3 separate regions of the Homo sapiens genome follow, and regions 1 and 3 are each linked to region 2. The links are contacts of gene promoters, found by promoter capture Hi-C in human tissues and cell types (Jung and others, 2019). All regions are on one chromosome and are shown on one strand. The core of a region is centred on a gene start or on the middle of the fragment in contact, and the rest is flanking DNA. Distances in the headings are between cores, read along the strand shown.

Region 1 (2,841 bases), core at 258-2,757, 360 kb before region 2:
ACCGGCAGTCTATTCATCTCCCAGTACCTAAATATCTATTTGTATTTTCTCCGGAAAACTATTTAAAAATAGTGTAAATCCATTCCTTAAAACTCTCTAAAAAATTGTTACCCAACATTATCTCAAAGTATTAAGATGGAAATTGCTCTAATGGACCTGTACCTGTTCTCTATTTGCACTGTCCAACACAGCAGCCACGAGCCACATAGCCACTTAAAAACAAAAACAAACAAACAAAAAAAAAACACTTGAAATGTGGCTACCATGGCTAGAGAACTAATCTTTACATTTTATTTAAGGTAAACTTACACAGCTGCCAGTGGCTAATACATTGGACAACAGGGCTCTGAACAATTGTTCTCAATCCTGGCTGCACACTAAAACTGCCACGGAGAACTTTTTAGATCCTAATGAGTAAACTAAAGCCCCCCACCGCCCCCGACCCCCGGCTTTTCTTTTTTTTTTTTAAGTCTCTGGGCATGGGACTCAGGCATAATATGTGATTTTATTTTATTTATTACTCCTATGTGATTTTATTTTATTAATTACTATTTATGAATGAACTAATGAATGAATGACAAGTTCTTGCTCTGTTGCCCAGGCTGGAGTGCAGTGGTACTGTAAACGCACCAATCAGCACTCTGTGTCTAGCTAAAGGATTGTAAACAGCCGGGCACGGTGGCTCACGCCTGTAATCCCAGCACTTTGGGAGGCCGAGGTGGGTGGATCACGAGGTCAGGATATCGAGACCATCCTGGATAACACGATGAAACCCCGTGTCTACTAAAAAATACAAAAAATTAGCTGGGCGTGGTGGCAGGTGCCTGTAGTCCCAGCTACTCGGGAGGCTGAGGCAGGAGAATGGCGAGAACCCAGGAGGCGGAGCTTGCAGTCCCGTCTACTAAAAAACACAAAAAATTAGCCGGGCATGGTGGCCAGCACCTGTAGTCCCAGCTACTCGGGAGGCTGAGGCAGGAGAATGGCGTGAACCCGGGAGGCGGAGCTTACAGTGAGCAGAGATCCCGTCACTGCACTCCAGCCTGGGCAAGACAGCGAGACTCTGTCTCAAAAAAAAAAAAAAAAAAAGATTGTAAACGCACCACTCAGCACTCTGTAAAAATGCACCAATCGGCACTGTGTCTAGCTAAAGAACTGTAAACACACCAATCAGCACTGTGTAAAAATGCACCAGTGTTCTGTAAAATGGACCAATCAGCGCTCTGTAAAATGGACCAATCAGCAGGATGTGGGCGGGGCCAAATAAGGGAATAAAGCTGGCCACCTCACAGCGGCAACCTGCTCGCATCCCCTTTGTGGAAGCTTTGTTCTTTCGGTCTTCATAATAAATCTTGCTGCTGCTCACTCTTTTGTGTCTGCACCACCTTTTTGTTTTGTTTTGTTTTTGAGACAAAGTCTCGCTCTGTCACCCAGGCTGGAGTGCAGTGGCAGGATCTCAGCTCACTGTAAGCTCCACCTCCCAGGTTCACATCATTCTCCTTCCTAACCTCCTGAGTAGCTGGGACTACAGGCGCCCGCCACCACACCCGGCTAATTTTTTGTATTTTTAGTAGAGACGGGGTTTCACCGTGTTAGCCAGGATGGTCTCGATCCCCTGACCTCGTGATCCGCCCGCCTCGGCCTCCCAAAGTGCTGGGATTACAGGCAAGAGCCACCGCGCCCTGGGGGTCCACACCACCTTTAAGAGCTGTAACACTCACCGCTAAGTTCCGTGGCTTCGTTCTTGATGTCAGTGAGACCAAGAACCCACCGGAAGGAACCAACTCTGGACACAGCACAATCATAGCTAATCATAGCTCCTAGGCTCACTCAATCCTCCTGCCCCAGCCTCCTGAACAGCTGGGACTATAGGCATGTGCCGCAACACCTGACTTGGGATTTTTAAGTGTAGCTAAAATAAAACAACTACTGCTCCAGAACAGTGTTTTTCAGTGTGCACAGAAAGCACCTCCTGAGTTTTTTTTAATGGCTATTTTGATTCATCTAGGTCTGGAGTGAGGTATCTGTAAACAAGCTCCTAGGTGATGCTGGCACCATTGATCCAAGGACTGTGCAGTTCACCCTCCACATCCACAGGGCCCATGCTGGCAGATTCAACCAACCATGAACAGAAAACATTCGGGAATAATACAAATAAAAAACCAACATGGTGTAACAGCTATGCATATAGCATTATAGCATTTACATTGTGTAATCTAGAGATGGTTTAAAGTATACAGCAGTGGCCAGGTGCAGGGTCCCAGCACTTTGGGAGGCTGAGGCAGGAGGATCACTTGAGGTCAGGAGTTCGAGACCAGCCTGGCCAACATGGCAAAACCCCATCTCTACTAAAAATACAAAAATTAGCCAGGCATGGTGGTGCCCGCCTGTAATCCTAGCTACTCAGGAGGCTGAGACAGGAGAACTGCCCGAACCTGGGAGGCAGAGGTTGCAGTCAGCCAAGATTGCAGTCAGCCAAGATTGCACCACTGCACTCCAGCCTGGGCGACAGGGTGAGCCTCTGCCTCAAATAATAATAATAATAATAATAATAATAATAATAATAATAATAATAATAAAGTATAGAGCAGAATGTGCATAGGTTATATGTAAATACTATACCATTTTATATAAGGAAATTGAGCATCCACGAATTTTGGTATCCACAGGGGTCCTGAAATCAATCCCCCATGGAAACTTAGAGATGACTGCACTTTGAACAGCAAGGCTCTTGAACCAATTAAACTGTTATGGCATCCAATTCATGAGTTCATTTATTATTTTCTAGAGGCAGGGTCTCGCTCTGTCACCTAGACTGGTCTCCTGGCCTCAAGCAATCCTCTG
Region 2 (2,943 bases), core at 1-2,500:
GCGGTGGAGGTGGAGGTGGAGGTGGAGGGGAGGAAAGATCCCCTCGGGGATGCGGGGAAGAGGAGAGTATATTGTGGAGGGGCACGGCGTTTTGCTCTTTTTTTGTTTTTTTCCTTAAGATGGTCCTGGCTCACAGAAAGGCCACTACCCGGCAGGCGGGTGGGTCACTTCCTGTGGGCGCAGCGGGGCTACGACTTGACAGCTACAAACGTTCGACCCTCCGACTGCGCTCTCACCGGGTTCCCAGACCCAGGTGGTGGTAGTCGGGGGTGGGAGTGGCGGGAAGGGCGCCGTCTTAAGAACCATCTGCCCATCCTCAGGGCTTCGCGCCTCTGGGGAGGTGGCCCTCAGCCGCCCTCGGCAGAGCTCTCCCCGAAACATGGTGCCGCGTCTCAGCGCTCCGGCCCCCGCGTGGCTCTACGACAGCGGGGTCCCTCTGGGGGCCGCGGGTGAGGGACTCCACCTTCCGCACGGACGACGTGGGCTCGCCCGGCTCCGTCGGCGGCATGAAGGGCACGGCTTGAGGGAAGCTCCCGAGGGCGCGATGGGCCTCCCGAGGGCCGACCGTGCCCCGCCGGGGTACGTGAGGGGCGCAAGGCGTGGAGCTGGGTCCAGACCCGTCCTGGCTCCTCCCCGGGCCCCTTCTCCACAGCCCCTTTCTATCAGCCCTGGCCGCCCCTCCGGCCTGGCCCAGCGCCGCGCCCTCCTTCCCCGAACTCCGCGGCCCGGGCGGAGGTGTCACTCCCGCCTCCAGTCACGACGGCGGGCCAGGTTGTGCAACACGCGCCGCGCGATGTGCCACCCACCCCCCCCGTATTCCACACCGCAACTCCCACCGCTCCGAGGGTCCTCCCCAGGCGCCGCGATATCTGTGCCCAAGGCTCTGAGCCCCTCTAAGCCCGCGGCGCGGACTTCCTGCCTCCCCAGCCCGGGCGCGTAGTCCCGACCGTCCGGCCCTCCGCGACCTTGCCCCGCGTCCGCAGCATCCTGGCGGCTACCGCTCCCCACGTCGAGTCTCACCGGCTGGGAGCAGACCAGCGCCCGGTGGTCCAGGAGTCGCAGGGAGGCGCCACCCGGGGCCAGCACGCCCAGGAGCAGCAGGAGCAGCCCCAGCAGGGGCCCCGGGACAGCGGACGGCGGGCTGCGTGCGGCCCCCATGGCCCGGCTGGCGTCGCGGAGGGCTCGGCCCCGGCTGGGGACGCAGCGAACGAACGTTCTGAGGCTTTCTTTTCCGCGGTGGAGTTCGAGTCGGCTCCACTTTGCTCGCTTCCGGCTTCCAGCCCGGGCCCAGGGGCGGGCCGGGCCGAGGGGAGGAGTTTAGTCTGGGACGGGGAGGGGTTTAGGGTGAGACAGGGCCCTCCCCCCGTTCCTCCTTGCGCCCCTCCTCTCGGCCCTACGCTCAGTCCTCCGGGCGTCCCTACCCAGTCCTTCCGGCGTCCCTCCCCGGCCCTCCTCCGCCCGCGCGCCCCAGGTGCGCTCCTCCCGCTGCTCCTGGGCCTGGCCCGTCGCGCCTCCAGTTGCACCCGCGTCGGGCTAGCGTCAACTCCAGCTGGAGCCTCGCCTGCCCCACATGCACCCTCCACCCTGGCCGTGCCGCAGCAACTGTCGATTTTAATCCTCCGCCCCCACTCACTTGATTCTTGGCCCTGTTCAGACTTCTTGCTTCTCTTGTGGGTCACTGGACGTGAAATCCCAACTTGGGATTTCAGGAAGTCCGTTTTCTTAGTCTCTGTCCCTTTTATTTTTGTTTTTTATTTTACTTTATTTTTAGACAGGGTCTCCCTCTGTCTCCCAGGCTGGAGTGCAGTGGTGCAACCGCAGCTCACTGCAGCTTCGGCCTCCCGGGCTCAAGCGATCCTCCTGCCTCTGCCTCCTGAGTAGATGGAAGCGCGGGCCATATCCCATTTTATTGTCCCCACCCCTTTGCCTGGTTCTGCTCGCTCTGCTTTCCTTGGCTTTGCTTTCTCTTTCTCAAGACAAGGACAGCTCCGGGCTCCAGGGAGGATGGGACAGCAGTCACTTCCAGCCTCCTGGCTCGGACTCGGGGACACTTGAGTTCCTGGAGGGCAGGCAACTTACCTGGTCTGTGAGACTGTGTCCCAGCCGCACCTAAGAGAGTCGTTACTTCCCAGAGGCTCACTCCACGGCCGCGGAAGCTGTCGCCAGCGAATTACACATTTCATGAGTCTCCTTCTTAGCACGCGTGCAGCCTGCGTCCTCTCCTCTCCGGACCCTGGAGGACCCTCCCAAGCCGGCCCGCGCTGCCTCTATCCTAGGTTCCTGCTTCGAGCCCGTCCTGCCCTAGTGCATCCACACGCTCCTGCCCATTCGCCTCTCCTCTCTTCCTCCCAAGACCACCACCGTCCGCTTTTCCTTGCCTATCAAGTGCGCCTCTGCCTGGCCTTGACACGCACGGAGTCTACACTCAAGTGGCTTTTCCCTGTATTTTCCACTGCCCTCGAGAGGTGGGTTTTTTCGCTGCCCGAAGCACCCGCTGACCCCCAGCGACATCTCTATGAGCCCCGCCCGCAGACACGACCCAGCTGAATGAAGCCTGAAGCTCAGTGGCCTTCAAATTGTCTGTTTCTAAAAGAATTTTGGAAAACTGCATCCTCTCATGCATTTTAAAGATGACATCTAAAATTCTCCATCCTAAGTCTAAATAGATGTAGAGGATGTAACTGTTACTTAAAAATCAGCGGTTGTCGTAGGCAGCTTCTAAGATGTGTTCTAGGATCCCACCCCCTGGGAGTCACGACCTTCTGAATCCTCCTCGCGGAGTGTGGGATGGACCCAGAGGCTTGGTTCTAACAATAGAATATGAATAGAAGAAGACAAAAATGATGGGATGTCACTTACAAGATTAAGTTACAAAAAGATCCTGACTTCTGTCTTGCCCAGCCCCTCCCTCTGAGCTCCTAGCTCTTAGGGAAGCCATGCTGG
Region 3 (3,155 bases), core at 304-2,803, 510 kb before region 2:
GCGTGAGCCACCGCACCCAGCCTCTTTTTTTGTTGTTGTTGTTGTATTTTGAGTAAGGGTCTCTTTCTGTCACCCAAGCTGGAGTGCAGTGGTGTGATCTCGGCTTGCTGCAACCTCTGCCTCCTGGGTTCAAGCAATTCTCCTGCCTCAGTCTCTCAAGTAGCTGGGACTACAGGCACGCCCCACCATGCCCAGCTAATTTTTGTATTTTTAGTGGAGACAGGCTTTCGCCATGTTGGCCAGGCTGGCCTCAAACTTGAGTTTGGGAGCACCTCGGCCTCCCAAAGTGCTGGGATTACAGGGGTGAGCTACCACGCCCGGCCAGCAGTGGCATCTTTTATCAGACACACATGCAGTCGTGATAGGGCCTCATCAGTAATGAGCAGGATTGGGCTTAAGAAAACATTCAGATGAGGATTGAGTGATTTGCAAACTGAGATGAAATCCTCTCTTTTTCATTTTGTTGGGGAGGGCTGGCTGTGATAATTAAAACAGGTTTTGTAACATAAAATCAAATTGACACAGGCTGGGCGCGGTGACTCACTCCTGTAATCCCAACACTTGTGGAGGCAGAGGTGGGCGGATCACCTGAGGTCAGGAGTTCAAGACCAGCCTGGCCAACATGGTGAAACCCCGTCTCTACAACAATACAAAAATTAGCCAGGCGTGATGGCAGGTGCCTGTAATCCCAGCTACTGGGGAGGCTGACGCAGGAGAATTGCTTGAACTCGGGAGGCAGAGGTTGCAGTGAGCCAAGATCGCACCATTGCACTCCTGCCTGGGCAACAGAGCGAGTCTCAAAAAAAACAAAACAAATTGACACATAGTGTCACTTGGTAAATGACAGTTATTGAGATGAATACAGTCAGTTCTCTGTATCTTTGGGGTCCACACCTGTGAATTCAACCAACTTTTTCTTTTCACTCCCTAAACACTACGGTATAACAACCATTTACATCGTATTAGCTATTTTAAGTGCTGTAGACATGATTTGCAATATAGGGGAGGATGTGTGATGGTTGTATGCAAATACTACGCTGTTTCATATAATGGACATCTAGGCGGGGACTGGGGTTTCCTGAAACCAACTGTGCGTTACATCTTCAGAAGCTTTTTCAGTTCCTTTCAAGCCTGTTGCTTAGGTTGCGCAGTCTACACACCAAGACAAGGGCATTCCTCTGCGGGAGTAAAGGGTACCATGTATCTTTCTCAAGTCTTTGAAAATGATTATTTCCTGTGCTTTTTTTTTTGCAGAGCTGGTGGAGTTGAGATCTATAATGGAGATCGTAAAATAAAGGTTTCCAACACCCTGGAAAGCCGGCTGGATCTCATAGCCCAGCAGGTGAGTGTGGGGGTACTTCTTGGTAGTTGGTCTGCTGTTACTTTGAAGTGGGACAGAGAACACGTGTCCATTCACTGGTATTTGGGATTTGTTGCTGTCTTTCCAGTTTTGGACATTTTCTCAAAAAGAATGAGAATTGGGCATGTAGTAGCATTTGCTGAGGTGGTAACATTTACATGAGGGTGAATTTGGGGTCAGAACAAGTGTTTTGTTGACCTAGGATTCGAATATGTACATTTTACTACATGTAAGGTGCTGACAAGTTCTTTCTCTAACAGGAGTGATGGGAACTAAAGCAAATACTTGTGTTTTTTTGTTTTGTTTTGCTTTTTTGAGATGGAGTTTCACTCTTTTTTGCGCAGGCTGGAGTGCAGTCTTGGCTCACTGCAACTTCCACCTCCCAGGTTCAAGCGATTCTCCTGCTTCAGCCTCCCGAGTAGCTGGGATTACAGGCACCTGCCACCACACCCGGCTAATTTTGTATTTTTAGTAGAGACGGGGTTTCACCATGTTGGCCAGGCTGTTATCAAATTCCTGACCTCAGGTGATCCACCCGCCTTGGCCTCCCAAAGTGCTGGGATTACAGGTGTGAGCCACCGTGCTCAGACACAAATACTTATTTAAAGGAATTATCATAAAGCTGCTGGCTTTTCAGATGTTTCCAGATTTGTACACAGGAACTCTAGGAAACAAGCCAGGAAAATTCCATTTGTTCTAAAATGCTGGGCATCTTCTAGACTTCTAGTGGGAGTCTATTGCTGTGGCTGCCAACCTAGTTATTCCCTGACCTAGATATGCAGTTTACTGTTTATGCAGATACTTGTCTTATAACTAAAGCACTTTCACCTTGATTTTTTCATATTCTGGTAACTTAAACCTCAGAACATTGTTTCCTAGTAGCCACTGTCCCATCCAGTATCATAGCCACTACTCACTTACGGATATTTAATTAAACCGAAAAATTCAGTTTCTCAGCACACAATAACCATCTGTAGCTAGGACTGCCCTGTTGGACAGCCGAGCCTTGGAAGTCCAGGGTTAAGTTCTCCTAAGGATTCATCAGTGGCTGTAGCAAGTGCTTCCAGCCTAAGCTGGCATTGGAAGTGTTCTTTGCAGCTGCTGTGGCCATAGTAGGCACTCAGTAAATGTTTGTTGAAGAAAGAGTGTAGGTGACCCAGCATATTGTGGTGAGATGATTATGATGAGTTAAGTCTGAGATAGTAGTGACTTTAGGTTTTTTTTTGTTTTGTTTTTTTTTAATGTGTCCCTTTTGTAAGCAGTCTGAACCCCAGATTTGGGATGAGTTAAGTTTCTCACCAAGGAATGTGTTACTTGCTTCAGGGAAGGAGAGGGTGGCTTTGATGTGCGTGGCTTTGTGAGTCCTTCCCAGCCACATAGAGGTTCATGGCTTTCCACCTGTGGTTAAGATGTGCAGCACTCTGGCCAGGCTTGGTGGCTCACGCCTGTAATCCCAGCACTGTGGGAGGCCGAGGCGGGTGGATCACGAGGTCAGGAGATCGAGACCATCCCGGCTAACATGGTGAAACCCCGTCTCTACTAAAAATACAAAAAAATTAGCCAGGCATGGTGGCAAGCACCTGTAGTCCCATCTACTTGGGAGGCTGAGGCAGGAGAATGGCGTGAGCTTGCAATGAGCGGAGATGCGCCACTGCACTCCAGCCTGGGCGACAGAGCGAGACTCCGTCTCAAAAAAAAAAAAAAAAAAAAGATGTGCAGCGCTCTACAACTTCTTCAGCTGACATTGCGTATTTATTACACTTTCTCTCCACAGATGATGCCAGAAGTCCGGGGA

The links. Contacts are between HindIII fragments. The study calls those that stand out against the background at their distance.
Region 1: a fragment that was not itself captured here is called in contact with the fragment with the promoter of IL17RA in region 2 in 1 of the 25 tissues and cell types used here (lymphoblastoid cells).
Region 3: a contact is called between a fragment that was not itself captured here and the fragment with the promoter of IL17RA in region 2, in 1 of the 25 tissues and cell types used here (spleen).

What each region holds. Positions count from the first base shown.
Region 1 is chr22:17,445,279-17,448,119 of GRCh38, reverse strand. All of the region lies in intron 1 of CECR2 (CECR2 histone acetyl-lysine reader), which reads right to left. Among named protein-coding and RNA genes, the nearest start is that of CECR2, 77 kb to the right of the region's middle. The HindIII fragment of the contact is 6,148 bases long and covers 1-2,841 here.
Region 2 is chr22:17,083,307-17,086,249 of GRCh38, reverse strand. IL17RA (interleukin 17 receptor A) reads right to left here and starts at 1,250. Exons shown (of 13, transcript NM_014339.7): 1 at 1,021-1,250. The coding sequence starts at 1,158. RefSeq lists silencers at 468-717, 758-857, 1,108-1,227, 1,248-1,467 and an enhancer at 2,021-2,190. The HindIII fragment of the contact is 17,220 bases long and covers 1-2,943 here.
Region 3 is chr22:17,592,716-17,595,870 of GRCh38, reverse strand. ATP6V1E1 (ATPase H+ transporting V1 subunit E1) reads left to right here. Exons shown (of 9, transcript NM_001696.4): 8 at 1,255-1,342; 9 at 3,135-3,155. Among named protein-coding and RNA genes, the nearest start is that of SLC25A18, 31 kb to the right of the region's middle. The HindIII fragment of the contact is 3,516 bases long and covers 1-3,155 here.